4 separate regions of the Homo sapiens genome follow, and regions 2, 3 and 4 are each linked to region 1. Evidence: promoter capture Hi-C in human tissues and cell types (Jung and others, 2019). All regions are on one chromosome and are shown on one strand. The core of a region is centred on a gene start or on the middle of the fragment in contact, and the rest is flanking DNA. Distances in the headings are between cores, read along the strand shown.

What was found. The method cuts DNA at HindIII sites, captures the fragments that hold promoters and counts their contacts. A contact is called where the count stands out against the background at its distance.
Region 2: a contact is called between a fragment that was not itself captured here and the fragment with the promoter of ATP6V1H in region 1, in 1 of the 25 tissues and cell types used here (mesenchymal stem cells).
Region 3: a contact is called between a fragment that was not itself captured here and the fragment with the promoter of ATP6V1H in region 1, in 1 of the 25 tissues and cell types used here (thymus).
Region 4: a fragment that was not itself captured here is called in contact with the fragment with the promoter of ATP6V1H in region 1 in 1 of the 25 tissues and cell types used here (mesenchymal stem cells).

The regions. Positions count from the first base shown.
Region 1 is chr8:53,841,230-53,844,860 of GRCh38, forward strand. ATP6V1H (ATPase H+ transporting V1 subunit H) reads right to left here and starts at 2,016. Exons shown (of 14, transcript NM_015941.4): 1 at 1,805-2,016; 2 at 349-496. The coding sequence starts at 461. RefSeq lists enhancers at 1,965-2,104, 3,402-3,451 and a silencer at 2,175-2,324. The HindIII fragment of the contact is 6,704 bases long and covers 1,306-3,631 here.
Region 2 is chr8:54,081,743-54,085,373 of GRCh38, forward strand. The region is part of intron 2 of LYPLA1-TCEA1 (LYPLA1-TCEA1 readthrough); the gene reads right to left. The region is part of intron 2 of LYPLA1 (lysophospholipase 1); the gene reads right to left. Among named protein-coding and RNA genes, the nearest start is that of LYPLA1, 18 kb to the right of the region's middle. RefSeq lists an enhancer at 2,867-3,631. The HindIII fragment of the contact is 7,195 bases long and covers 1-3,631 here.
Region 3 is chr8:53,658,040-53,661,670 of GRCh38, forward strand. No RefSeq gene overlaps it. Among named protein-coding and RNA genes, the nearest start is that of LINC02984, 140 kb to the left of the region's middle. RefSeq lists enhancers at 1-561, 32-111, 562-1,366, 1,675-2,215. The HindIII fragment of the contact is 7,622 bases long and covers 1-3,631 here.
Region 4 is chr8:53,971,567-53,975,197 of GRCh38, forward strand. All of the region lies in intron 19 of LYPLA1-TCEA1 (LYPLA1-TCEA1 readthrough), which reads right to left. All of the region lies in intron 8 of TCEA1 (transcription elongation factor A1), which reads right to left. It also overlaps the pseudogene LOC100131254. Among named protein-coding and RNA genes, the nearest start is that of TCEA1, 49 kb to the right of the region's middle. The HindIII fragment of the contact is 6,532 bases long and covers 1-3,631 here.

The sequences.
Region 1 (3,631 bases), core at 766-3,265:
GCCAGGGCATATCAGACCAGTCTAGCAGGTTTTGCCCCTCATCCCCTTCCTCCCTCCGTTAGCCCAAGGACATTCCTCCTATGTTTCCCACTTATTCCAAAAGTACTTCCCCAGGCAGCCAGAGAAGGTCAAAAGCACCATAAGCCGCTCTGCTTCCCCACTAGGGCGCCAAGCTGTTTCCACCCCACTACACTTAACTCCCTAAGACAGCTAATTATTCTGAAGAGGAAGTGTTTCTTCCACATTTTTCAGTATTTTCCCTGTATTTCTCTCATAGAAGCATGACCATGAAAAAGTCTGATGCAAAAGCATATGACTGTCCATGATTCACAGCAAATTGGTACTTACTGAAGATAGGATTGCCAGTTGACTTTGTTTGCACGAACTTCTGCAGCCTTGGCAGCAATAATATTGGTGGGGACAGCAGCATCCACAGCACCTCGGATATCCATTTTGGTCATCTAAACTTCGTAATCTTGAATGTCTTTCAACAAATCTTCAATTTTGATGCAAGGTAAAAACAGAATACGAGGTGTTTCTTTTTTTTACAACTATTAATATTATGATTATGAATATCGTGATCACTTTAATCTCCCCAGGCATTCAACTCAAATATTAAATGTCCTAAGTCTGAAAGTATCATTATATTTCAAATATTGTCCACTGCTCCATAAAAGAGTTCTTTAGGCTTTTGCTTTTCTAGAAAAATTTTTTTCATTATTGGCACTAACACTGCAGTAAGATTTTTAAAGCAATCACCTAATATACTGAAATCAGAAATCATGATTAAATAGAATAGGTATAAATATGGGAAAAATTGTAAATTTATACAATTGTGGTTAACTTTTCTCATAGAGAAACAATAAGAATATGAATAGTACGGATAAGGCTAGTTTTATAAACATTTACTAAGCATCATTTTGAAGTGGCACATTAAAAATTCTAAGTCCTTTCGAAAATTACTCAAATTAAAATACACAAAGTGGGAACATAATTTCTTAGAAGACAGTGCTTTCCTTTTCAAACAAAATTCATAGTATTTGCAAAATCAAAATTCGGAGAGAAAGTTTTAGAACAAATACATATTACAATTTAGGTAAGCCAACAATGGCGGTCTGGCTGGACGACAAGAACCTACAATAATGAAATTCTATGTAATTCTCACTCCTAAACTTCCAGATACAAACGACTGATTTTAACACAAAGCAAAATACAGGTTGCCACTTGCAAAACATAAATTCACGGCCATGGCCACAAAGAAGTTAAAATCCTACCCAAAATTATATTCCGGGTTTCCAACGATCTTAATCAATTTGGAACTTAATCTCTGTATCTGAAGATTTGCTGTATAAACAACCCTGGGCAGCGCGAACGACAGGGCCCAGGAAAAAACAGGCTTCAACTGGGCCAGGCTGGAACTCTGCAGCCAAGGAGGCTCAGCCTCAGCGGCCCGTCCTGGCGTAGCTCAAGGTGTCTCTAGACAATTACCTAAGTCCCTGAACTACTCGCACCCCCAGCGATCCAGGGCCGTGGCCCAGTCCTGGAGAAGGTATACTTTTTACCCCTCCCCCTCCACTCTCCTGCCCGCCCCTGACGTTTCTTCCCCCTGCGAGAAAGGCTCCAGAATTTCGCTTAATAAACCTGGTTGAGGCCTGGAAGAAAAGCAATCTGGCAACCGGGGGCCGAAGAACAGGAGAGGACCAAGCGGCGAGACACCAGCACGCACCAGGCAAGCTGGAGAAACTGCAAGAGTCGCCTGACCTGGTCTGCAGCCTGAGACCAAACAACGCGAGGGCGGCCTTACCTCGCGAATCCTCGGGACCCCACAACGCACCCAAAGCCGGCAGGGAGGGTGGTCCGGGGCGCCGGGGACACAGCCGGGCTGGGGCGCCGCGTCAGAGCCAAGTAGGCGTCTCCTGTCAGGTCCAGAGGTCTGAGCAGTGGAGGGAGACTCCGGGAGCCGAAAGTGAAGCGGGTCCCGCACCAAGGAGACGTTGAGGGCCGCACAGGTAGAAGGAAGCCAGGGCGGCCGCAGTAGAATGACAGAGGCGCCGGTCACGTGATCGGAGGCACGTGACTGCTGCGGAAGGCGGAAGCCGGGAGACTCCAAAGCAGCAAGAGGAGGGGCGGGCGCTGCGGCGGGGCTTGTTCGGTGCGGACAACTGGATTCCCGAGTCCGTAACTTGGGCCCCGGAGCGACGCAAGGGTCGGGCCCCAGCCAGCCAGGGCAGGTGGGAGGCGGCGAGCGTGGCGGGCACGCTAAGACCCGCCGCCCCCAGACCTAGTGCCTCGCCTAGGGGAGGCCGAGGACCTCCGCCCGGAAGCAGCTAGCAGAGGCCAAAACGCTCTTATTGTAACCGTCATTCTTTTGAAAAGTTTGATTTCGCGCTTTCAAATTAATTTCCATTTGGATTTAACAGCTCCATGAAGCAGGCGTTCTTATTCTGATTTTAAATAGAAAACTCGGGCTGAGAAGTGGGTCTGAAAAGCTCTCTTAACCTAGGGTTGCACATTTAGCAAATAATAAATTCCATTGCAGTATTTACTTTTATACTAAAAAGTTATTCGTTGTTTATCTAAAATTCACATTTACAGGACGTCTGGTATTTTATCCAACAGTCCCATCTGGAGCCCAAATTTTCCCCTAGTCCAGGCCTCAGCAACTGTCTTTGCCTTAAAGTAAGAATGTACTGCCCTGGAGGTGAAGTATATATGATAGCATGTTTTCCTTAAAAAGCAATGAAAGGGGCCGGGCGCGGTGGCTCACTCCTGTAATCCCAGCACTTTGGGAGGCCGAGGCCAGTGGATCACCTGAGGTCTGGAGTTCGAGACCAGCTGACCAACATGGTGAAACCCCATCTCTACTAAAAATACAAAAAATTAGCTGGGTGTGGTGGCGCATGCCTGTAATCCCAGCTGCTTGGGAGGCTGAGGTAGGAAAATCACTTGAACCCAGGAGGCAGAGGTTGCAGTGAGCCAAGACCGCACCATTGTACTCCAGCCTGGGCAGAAAAAGCAAAACTCCGTCTCAAAAAGAAAAAAAAAAAATTCTTTGAAAGGGATTTATAACCAACCCATTTTTACTCGTAAAATTAAAGTCAGAATAATCAAAATCATGCATTGATTATGAATAAAGATATATAATAACAGTGTCAAAGATTGTACTAGGTCACTCATTCTGTCTTAGCCAGAAGTGAAAGTCTGTTGTTTTGAAAGCAAATCTAAGGGGAAAAACTTTCATAAAAGAGAAAAAGAAACCGATCGTGTACTAAGAAACTCCCAAAAGCTGAAACAGCATGTTTTCTGTGTAACTGAGCAAAGCTGGCAGTGAGGCCTGATCTTCGCATTTCCTTTCTGTATCACCTAAGCCACAGACTGGCGTGATACAGCGAGTCTCATCAGATTTCGGGAGGCTCTCCTCTTTTCCTAGAGGCACAAAGTTATGGAACAAAATCAGGAACAGTGCAGTGAGCAGAGGGGACTGCTTCACAGGCACCTGGGCTGGCGTTCTCCGAGCATCACAACATTACCAGACAATTTGCCTGGAGTAGGGAGAAGAGAAGAGGCAGGTACTCCCGGCATTATCTCTCTTAACATTATTTCTGTAACACTTCTATCGGAGATTTTTCTT
Region 2 (3,631 bases), core at 772-3,271, 240 kb after region 1:
CAGAGTTCTGCTCTTCTGCTCTTGTTGCCCAGGCTGGAGTGCAATGGTGCGATCTTGGCTCACTGCAATCTCCGCCTCCCAGGTTCAAGTGATTCTCCTGCCTCAGCCTCCCAAGTAGCTGCGATTACAGGCATGTGCCACCACACCTGGCTAATTTTTGTATTTTTAGTAGAGATGGGGTTTCGCCATGTTGGCCAGGCTGGTCCTGAACTCCTGACCTCAGGTGATCCGCCCGCCTCCACCTCCCAAAGTGCTGAGATTACAGGCATGAGCCACCGCATCTGAGGAGAGAAATTTAAAAAACAAACATTCTACATGCATGAAAGATAAAGATTGAGATACAGACTGTATCCTCAACGAAACTGCAGTCCCGTAGGAGAAACAAGATATAAACATACCACCACACAGATCAAAAGTTAAGCCCTACAAACAAGTTACAAAGAATGTCAAAATGTGGAAGAGAAGGAAAAGATTAGTTTCAGCTATGAAAATCAAAAAGAATTTATACAGCAGGAGCAGTAAGACAGAGGACAGGTTTTCCCCACAACGCACACGCACATACATACGCACCATAGTATGTTTTATTCCTTATTACAATTAGGGGAGAAAAGACAAAAGTAGAAAATGAAAAGCATTTGGACTGGTGCGATCAAGAACTAATCCTTTTTTTAAAAAAAGAAACAATCATTAACAGCTTAGCTCCTATTTGTTATGAGACTATATTGTATCTACAGTTTTAGAATGTACTTTTTTTTTGGTAGAGACAGGATCTCACTATGTTGCCCAGGCTGGTATCAAACTCCTGGCCTCAAGTGATCCTCCTGCCTTGGCTTTCCAAAGTGTTTGAATTAAAGGTGTGAGCCATTGCACCTGCCCAGGATACACTTTTTCCACTTAAATTGCTGGAATTCTAACTTATCAAATATTCTTCTTTGTAAACATTTTGGCATTTCAATTTTTTTCACACAGATTTCTCATGGTACAGTCTTTCTTTCTTTTTCTGAGACGGAGTCTCGCTCTCTTGCCCAGGCTAGAGTGCAGTGGCGCGATCTCGGCTCACTGCAAGCCCCGCCTCCCAGGTTCACGCCATTCTCCCGCCTCAGCCTCCCAAGTAGCTGGGACTACAGGTACCCGCCACTACGCCTGGCTAATTTTTTGTATTTTTAGTAGAGACGGGGTTTCCCCATGTTAGCCAGGATGGTCTCGATCTCCTGACCTCGTGATCCGCCCGCCTCGGCTTCCCAAAGTGCTGGGATCACAGACATGAGCCACCGCACCCGGTCTCATTGTACAGTCTTATAAAATGAATGTTCGCAGACATCATTTTTTCCTTAGAAAAAATTCTTTAAAACATTAATGTCACAAAAATCTTTTAAAAAATTAGGCCTTTGCACATATACTGTTAAATTAGTCTAGAAGAATACTTAAAAATCAGAGACAGAAATTGAAGACACCTCAGATAAAGTAGGTTAAGACCACATGGTGAAGAAATGACTGCTGTGCTCTATATTTGAATGTTAACAGGTAGCCCATAAGAACCCACAGAAAAATCAAATGATGAATATTATCATCTTAGGAATATTACTCTAAGCAAATACAGCTCTAACTCTCATGCAAGCTAAAAATAACAATGAAAAGCTCAATTTTTCATAGTATGAATATACAAACAGTTCCCAACTTATAATGGCTAAATTTATGATTTTTTGATTTTATGATGAATTTATCATGATGTAAAACATCTGTATATCAAGAAATATTAAACAACAGGGGTCAATAATTGTTTTCTGCAAAGGACCAAAAGAGTCAACATTTTAGGCTTTACCAGCCAGAAGGTCTCTGTTGCAACTACTCAACTCAGCCACTCTAGGATGAAAATTAACTATAGACAACATGTAAACAAAAGGATGTGGTTCTGTTCCAACAAAACCTTATTTATGTACAATAAAATCTGAGTTTCATATACTTTTCATGTGTCACTAAGTCTTAAGTTTTTTCCTAACCATTTAGAAAAAGTAAAAACACGCAGCAGCGAAAATGCATAGGATGCAGCAAAGGCAATGCTCAAATGGAAATGTATAGCTGTAGACATCTGTGTTTAAAAATAAAGATCTCAGGCCGGGCACGGTGGCTCACGCCTGTAATCCCAGCACTTTGGGATGCTGAGGTGGGCAGATCACCTGAGGTCAGGAGTTCAAGACTAGCCTGGCCAATGTGGTGAAACCCTGTTTCTACTAAAAATACAAAAACTAGCCCGGTGTGGCAGTGAATGCCTGTAATCCCAGCTACTTGGGAGGCTGAGGCAGAGGAATCACTTGAACCTCGGAAGCAGAGGTTGCAGTGAGTTGAGATCACGCCACTGCACTCCAGCCTGGGAGACCAAAGAAAAAAAAAATAAATAAATATATATATATATATATATATAAAATAAAGACCTCAAATTAACAACCTAATCTTTTACCTGAAAAAAAACCAAAACCAAAAAACTTTATCCACAGTAAACAGAAAGAAGAAAATAATAAAAACTAGAGTGGAAATAAATGCAACAGAGGCCGGCGCGGTGGCTCACGCCTGTATTCCCAGCACTTTGGGAAGCTGAGGCGGGTGGATCGCTTGATGTCAGGAGTTAGAGACCAGCCTGGCTAACATGGTGAAACCCCATCTCTACCCAAAATACAAAAACTAGCTGGGTGTGGTGGCACGTGCCTGTAGTCCCAGCTACTCAGGAGGCTGAGACAAGAGAATTGCTTGAACCTGGGAGGCGGAGGTAGCAGTGAGTTGAGATTGAGCCACTGCACTCCAGCCTGGGAGAAAGAACGAGAGTCCATCTCAAAAAAAAAGAGAGAGACTATCAACTAAAGCAAAAGTTGGTTCTTTGAAAAGATCAACAAAAATGGCAAACCTTTAGCTAGATCAACCAAAGAAAAAAAACAGAGAAGACTCAAATTATTACAATCAGGAAACAAAGAACAGACTACTACTAACTTGACACATAGAAAAGATTATAAGAGAACAGTATGAACAATTACATGGTAATAAATTAGATAACCTAGACTAAATAGACAAATTCCTAGAATGACACAAACTACCAAAAACGGATTCAAGAAACAAAATCTATACAGGCCTGTAACAAGGAATTGAATCAGTAATCCAAAGTCTCACAGAGAAAAGCCCAGTACCACATGGCTTCAAGGTGAAGTCTACCAATCCAATGTTTAAAGAATCCTCCTCTCCCTCTCCCTCTCCCTCCTCTCCCTCCTCTTCCTCTCCCTCTCCCTCTCCCTCTTTGCACAGTCTCCCTCTGATGCCGAGACGAGGCTGGACTGTACTGCCGCCATCTCGGCTCACTGCAACCTCCCTGCCTGATTCTCCTGCCTCAGCCTGCCGAAGGCGCGCACTGCCACGCCTGACTGGTTTTTGTATTTTTTGGTTGAGACAGGGTTTCGCCGTGTTGGCCGGGCTGGTCTCCAGCTCCTGACCGCGAGTGATCTGCCAGCCTCGGCATCCCGAGGTGCCGGGATTGCAGACGGAGTCTCGCTCACTCAGTGCTCAATGTTGCCCAGGCTGGAGTGCAGTGGCGTGATCTCGGCTCACTATAACCTCCACCTCCCAGCTGCCTGCCTTGGCCTCCCAA
Region 3 (3,631 bases), core at 302-2,801, 180 kb before region 1:
TATCACGGGCGGAAGGGGCGGATCGGTCCCCTGAGATTTTCAGATCATCCAGACAGATTACCCATTGGAAATGGCCTAGAGACACACAGAAAGGGGAGGGAATAAAACGGCTGCTGGAAACACAGCCCTGGATTCTGGGGCTGTATGAAAAAAGAACATAGATTTATCTCCCGGTGAAACTCAGATTTTCCGCCCAGAACGCTCACATTTCTTCTGCGCTGGAAGTGCCAGCTGGTATTGATGATGTTGTCTGTTTGGTTATACTTCAATCCAAAAACTGGCGGGGACATTAGGCACTAATGGATGGGATGTATTTAAAACATCTACAACTTATGATGTGCTCAGCTCTATCCTAAGGCCATATCTCACACATTCCTAAAACAGCCTACCAGTTAGGTACTCTTTGTTATCACCATTTTACGGAAACAGAAACAGTGGCACAGAGAGGTCAAGTTGCTTGTCTAAGGCCTCAGAGCTGGTGAGCGAGGGGCAGAGCCAGGACTTGTGCCCATGCCCTCTGTCTCCCTAGCCCAGCCTCTGACCGCACCACAGAGTGTGGTGATGCAGGTGAGGGGGAGGGCAAGAAGATGGTCCTCTCTCGGCAAATGCTGGCCACCTGCAGGGCTGTGAGTCACAGGACTTTAGGGATATTAAGCTGTCTGAAGAGGCCCAGGATCTCAGGGCTTATTTTGTGCATGCTCCTGAGGGTTTCTGAGTGGGTACAGTGAGGAATCCCTCACACAAAGCAAGTGAAGCACATCTAGCTGAGCCTCCCTCCCTTGGCTACCCAGAAAGACCCTGGTCCTGAGCGTGCAGAATGTTTTGCATTCCAGCTGCTGTGACCTGGGAAGGACCGCTGGCCCCATCCTGGCCTTTTGAGCACAGCCATCCCACTCACCCAGATCCCACAGCAGCCTCCAGGGCCCATGCCCCACCCCAGGTGTCCCCTTTCTCCTCCCTAATTCTCAGTCTCTTGGCCTCAAAAGCTGAATTTCCTGGACATGTTTCCCTGACACTTTAAAGACCCATTTAGATACCATTTCCTGGCTTTATGATTTCTGTTATCCCCTATGCCCACTCCCCTGCAAAGACACACACACCAGCTTTACCTAATCCCTTGATTATTGTGGCACCTTGTCCACATCCCAGCCCTCCCCACCACTGCCCTGTGGTCATCTGTGCTCACTAAAGGAGTGAATGAGACAACCTCAAAGATACCAGAGATGCCCCATAAACACTCTACAGCACTGAGGATGGGTGTGGTGGGCTGTATTTTATTTTGTTGTTAGAAATTATTTCATGTGCTGACTCATAATTTGTCTCTGTGAGTTGTTTGCTTATGAAGTAGAGCATTAGCTAAGAATCTCAAGCCAGAACAAGTGATTCGGCCAAGAACCTGCCATCTTTACCTCCGCCTTCGTCTGTCCTCATGTCTTTCACAGGAAAATCTGACGGGAACAGGAACATGACTCAGCCAGACCATTTCTTACATTGGTTTGCCCCAGTTTTCTATCTGTGCTGCTCACAATTTTTCTTCCTCTACTGTAAAGATTGACTTAACAATTCAAATGATGTTTATCTTCAATGTACCTTGGAAAATTTTAAGAAAGTGCTGCTTTCCACTCAGCTTTCAACTTGTCCGGATGTGCACATAAAAGCAAGAAAGCAAGAGCACAGAGTGTCATGCCATTGTCTCTCTCACTGAAAGGAATTGCAGAGGCTTCACTTGTGGGGTCAAAGTTCCAGAATAAAACAAACCTGCTATTGGAAATGACATTTCACAATGTCCACCCACAAATCGGTGACCAAAACAAGGCCATGATATTCACTTCCAGAAACCCATTTGCATTAATGGAAATTTTAAAAAGAATTCTTTTGTGTTTTTTCACCTAAATTAGCATAGCAATGGTAATTGCCGAGGGGTATTCAAAAAGCGGATATTGGCAGGTAACTTGGAAAACAACCACTCCTTTTGAAAATTTAGGGCAAGAGGAAAGTATGGACAATTACAGGCCGGTGAGTGCTTCAAGGCAATGGCTCCCAAACTGGATTCTAACTTGAATTGTACAGCACAATTTTGGAGTGCCTTCTCATCCTGGGAAGCCTCTCTCTTGTAGGGAGATGACCCAACAGAATTTGTTCCTGGTTACTGGAGTAAGTGAGCACTGACTATGCATCAGGACCTGTAATAAGCGCCTAACTAAAATACACGATCTCATTTCATCTTCCTATCAAAGCTGCCAAATAGGCACTATTAACACCATTTTATAGATGGAAAAACTGAACCTCCAAAAAGGGTTTAGCAGTATGAACCACGGCTCCAATGTAAATCACCACCCTTTATCAGGAGGCATCCCACCAGACCCTGGCACTGCCTCCCAGGCCCTCCTTGCGTACACTCTTGAAGAAATCAAGCAACTCATTCCCTACCTCTTGACTACTTTTTTAAAAGGCTGATTTAACCCCAAAGTGCCTCTTACTTTTCGTCGCTCAACCTCCCTGCTATGCCATAGCTGAATTTGTCCATTCTTCTCCAGAGCCCAAGGGCCTTGGGGCACCGAAAGAGCTCAGCTCAGCCTCCACTCACTATCACCCAGGAGCCCATGTGCCTGCAAGGACTACCTCCATTCGGACCTTTCTGTGGTTCTGCAAGCGACGTGCCCAGAATCCTGGAATCCGTCCTCCCTTCACTGAAACCTCAGGAGGTGGCCGTTCTTTCCTTGGCCTTTCTTTATTTAAGGCTTTTCTCTGATCTCAAAATTAATTAATTCTCACTGAGAAAAATTGCAAAATACAGAAATATATAGACAGGAAATTAAAATCAGTCCTGATCCAACCTGCCAGAGACCAATGTTGTTGAACACGCTTACCAAGGCCTCGCCAGGGCCTGTTTACTGTCCACTCCACGTGCACATTGTTCACACACACATTGAGCATCTACTGCTTACCAGGCACCGCGTGAGGAGCCGGGTGCAGGGAAGTGACTCTGGCCTCCTCTGATTTGCCGTGGGGAGGCCACAAGGCAAGCAAAGAGCCACAATAAAAACCTCATAAACAGTCATCAAGTTACTGAAGGAAGGGTGTGAGACATTGCTGTGAACAAGAAGAACGAGGGAATACCAGTTAGATGCGGGTCAGAGAAGGCCTCTGGGAGGAGGAAGCAGACTCCGAGGAGTCCAGCGCTGAGGTCAGGGTGCCTGGCAGCTGACTCCAGGGGAGACCTGAGAGGCGCGGGCCACAGCGTGGAAGGAAGCTCTTCAGCCTTGAAGAAAGCGCCGGGGCCAGGTCCGCCAGCCCAAAGTCTATGCTCCTCAGCCGAGAAGGCTTCCTGGGGGAGGACAGGCAGGGAGTGGCCCGCACGGAGCCCAGATTCAGAAGGTTCCCGGCCAGCGTGAGGAACAGGAGAGAAACCCGGCAGGAGAAAGGGGTGGGTGTGGCCACAAAGAGGCCACATCTCAGATATATTTTGCAGGTAAAATTTCACGGAATGTAGATGTGTATAAAGAGGGAAACGTGAGCTCCAATACTTGTTCAGCCTTGGTTTAAATCAAGCTTGTCCAACTCTCGGCCTGAGGGCCACTTGTGGCCCAGGATGGCTTTGAATGTGGCCCAACACAGATTTGTAAACTTT
Region 4 (3,631 bases), core at 744-3,243, 130 kb after region 1:
CGCCACTGCACTCCAGCCCAGCAACAGAGCAAGATTCCATCTCAAAAAAAAAAGTTCAAGTTGAACTATGCTGTGGATAAGAGGGTACCACATTAACCATAGCACTGCAGAGTACTTGAAACGTTTTTATGACCTTTCAGATTCTGATTCTGATCTTTCTGATAAAGATAGCAAAGCAATGAATCAAAAGAAAATACAGAAGAAAAAACTCCAGACTAAAAAAGAAATATTCAAAAAAATCTAGTTGAGAAAAAGAAAGAAACCAAGAAAGCTAATCAAAAGGATTCTGAAAATAAAACTGATATAGATAATTCTGAGAGAATTAAAAAAATGAAAACCATGTAAATCTAAGATAGCTCCCAACATAAGTCCAAAGAAGGAGAGCAAAAAATTTACACAAAAAAGTACAAAAGAGAAAAAAAACATTATTCAACATACTATCAACTCTTCTCTCAAAGAAAGATGAAGGACATTAGACTCGGGCACCTCTGATGTGAAATCTCCCAAGATCAAGTGTTCTAAGACAAGAAGAGAAATGCAACCAGTGGTTCCATCCATAACGGCAAGTGGCAGTGATGGTTATGAAAACTCAACAGACAGTAAAATGTTTGACAAAGATGCTCTAAAGGAAGATTTAGAAAGTGTTAGTAAAACAGGAAGTGATGAGGAATCTAAAAATGAAATTACAAGTATTGGTAGAGCTTCAGGTGATGATGACAATGGAAGTGATGATGAAAATGAAGAGGAGGATGAAGAGAATGGTGAGGATGATGATGCAAGTGACAGCAGCCCTAATCTTGCAAGGGGTAAAGGAAATATAGAAACTAGTTCTGAAAATGAAGATGATATGGCAGATTTGTTTCCAGAAGAATCAAGTTTTGGGCATGCATGGAGAGAATCAGATAAACCTGCTCCTCGTGCTGATGACATTACACATTAATTAGCAGTTTGCAACATGGACTGGGATAGATTAAAGGCAAAAGATTTGCTGACTCTGTTCAACTGATTTAAACCTAAAGGAGGTGTTATATTTCCTGTAAAAATATATTCTTCAGAGTTTGGAAAGGAGAGGGTGAAGGAAGAGCAAGTTTGAGGATCAGTAGAGCTATTAAGTGTTCCTGAAGATGCCCCAAAAAAGGACTGGACCTCTAGAGAAAAACTGAGAGGTTATCAACTCAAATGACTGAAGTACTATTATGCAGTAGTAGACTGTGATTCTCCTGAAACAGCCAGTAAAATTTATGAGGATTGTGGTGGCCTGGAATTTGAAAGTAGTTGTTCTTTCACAGATCTAAGGTTTATACCAGATGATACTACTTTTGATGATGAGCCGAAGGACGTAGCCTCAGAGGTGTATTTAACAGCATATAAACTAAATATATATCATATCTGCTGCAATGGGAACATCAATGGTGGAAATCACTTGGGATGAGACTGAACATGAAAGAATTACAACACTCAACAGGAAGCTTAAAAGGAAGAGCTTTTGGACATGGATTTTCAAGACTACTTAGCTTCCTCTAGCGAAAATGAAGAGGAGATAGAAGAGGAGCTACAAGGTGATGATGAAGTCAATGTAGAAGAAGATGGGAAAACAAAAGTCAGAAGGACGATGAAGAACAAATCACTAAATATAGGCAACTTTTGCAGGTTATTCAAGAAAAAGAAAAGAAAGACAAAGAAAATGATATGGAAATGGAAACGAAGTGGGTTCCAGGTCTTAAAGAAAGTGCAAAGAGATGGTCAAGAACAAATTGAAAGGAAAGGATAAACTGACCCCTTGGGAACAATTTTTAAAGAAGAAAGAAAAAAAGACAAAAAGAAAAAGAAGACTCTTGCTAAAGAGGCCAGTGAAAATTAACTTCCCTCTGATGTTGATATGAATGACCAGTACTTTGCTAAAGAAGTTTAAAAAAATAGGTATAAAGAAAAAAGTGAACAAAATCTGCAAAAGATGGCACATCTCCAGAAGAAGAAACCAAAATAGAAAGATGAAAGGCTGAAATGGCTTTCCTTACTGGATGAGGAGGAGGAAAGTAAGAAACACTTCAATTACAACAAGATTGTGGAGCACCAGAACCTGAGCAAAAAGAAGAAAAAGAAGAAAAAGCAGCTCATGAAAAAAAAGAAATTATTAGAGGATGACTTTGAGGTAAATGTTAGCAATGCATGGTTTCAAGCAATGTACACTTCCCACTTGTTCAATGTGCATCCCTCAGATCCCAATTTCAAGAAAACAAAAGCTGTGGAAAAAACCCTTGAGGAGAAAGCCTGGCAAAGAGAACAGAAAAAACAAGAACTTACTCAGGCAATAAAGAAAAAAGAGGGCCAGGCACAGTGGCTCACGCCTATAATCCCAGCACTTTGGGAGGCCAAGATGGGTGGATCACCTGAGGTCAGGAGTTCGAGACCAGCCTGGCCAACATGGTGAAACCCTGTCTCTACTAAAAATACAAGAAAATTAGCCAGGCATGGTGGCTGGCACCTGTAATCCCAGCTACTCGGGAGGCTGAGGCAGGAGAATCATTTGAACCAGGGAGGTGGGGGTTTCGGTGAAGTCCACTGATCCTGCCTTGTCAATGTTTATTAAATCTGTAAAAACCAAAACAGAGCAGTTTCAAGCAAGAAAAAAAAAGTCAAATAACTGGATGTTATTTCTTTTTGAATTGAAAACATCCCCTAAAATATACAGAAATAGTAGGAGAAATATTTATTGGGAACAAAGCTACCTTTCAAGAATATGAATAAAATCTCATTCTAAACATAGTAAAATTTTTCTTCATAAATAGTTGTTCTTAATTGTGGATGACTGACAAATTTGTATTGTATATTCCTATAGATTAGTCATAATTAAATCAAATTACCTGAATTGTAGGGTTTATAAAATGTTTATATTTTATGAAGTTCAATTCCAACTAGTGGAAAGTTACTCTAGCTTTCTGGTTTTTTTGGGGGGTAGTGGGGGTGGGGGTGGGGGGGGGACGGAGTTTCATTCTTGTCACCCAGGCTGGAGTGCAATGGCATGATCTCAGCTCACTGCAACCTCCACTTCCTGGGTTCAAGCAATTCTCCTGCCTCAGCCTCCTAAGTAGCTAGGATTACAGGCAAGCGCCAACACGCCTGCCTAATTTTTTGTATTTTTAGTAGAGATGGGGGTTTCACCATGTTGGCCAGGCTGTTCTCAAGCTCCTGACCTCAGGTGATCCGCCTGCCTCAGCCTCCCAAAGTGTTGGGATTCCAGATGTGAGCCACCGCACCCAGCCTACTCCAGCTTTTTAAAAGGCTGTTTACAATTCTATGTAAAAATAGAGCAGTATCTACGCTTGTTTGTTTAAAGGTTAGGGATAATTTGAAATATATATATATATAATACATTAATTTCTCTGGGAGCAGGAGGCAGATTTAAATAGCTATTAAAATAATTTATTTTTCTAGCCATAAAAGATGGAAGAACTTTTTGTTGTTTATCATGTTAAGTTTGTTTATGAAATTAATTTGTAAATAAAAGAGCAAAATATTTTTATTATTTTTGTATAGCACTGATTTATTTTATACATCTCAAACTATTCTCTGGAAAAATTTTAAAAGAGAGGGAAATGCTTACATTATGGTAGCTAAGTTAAAAGAAGAG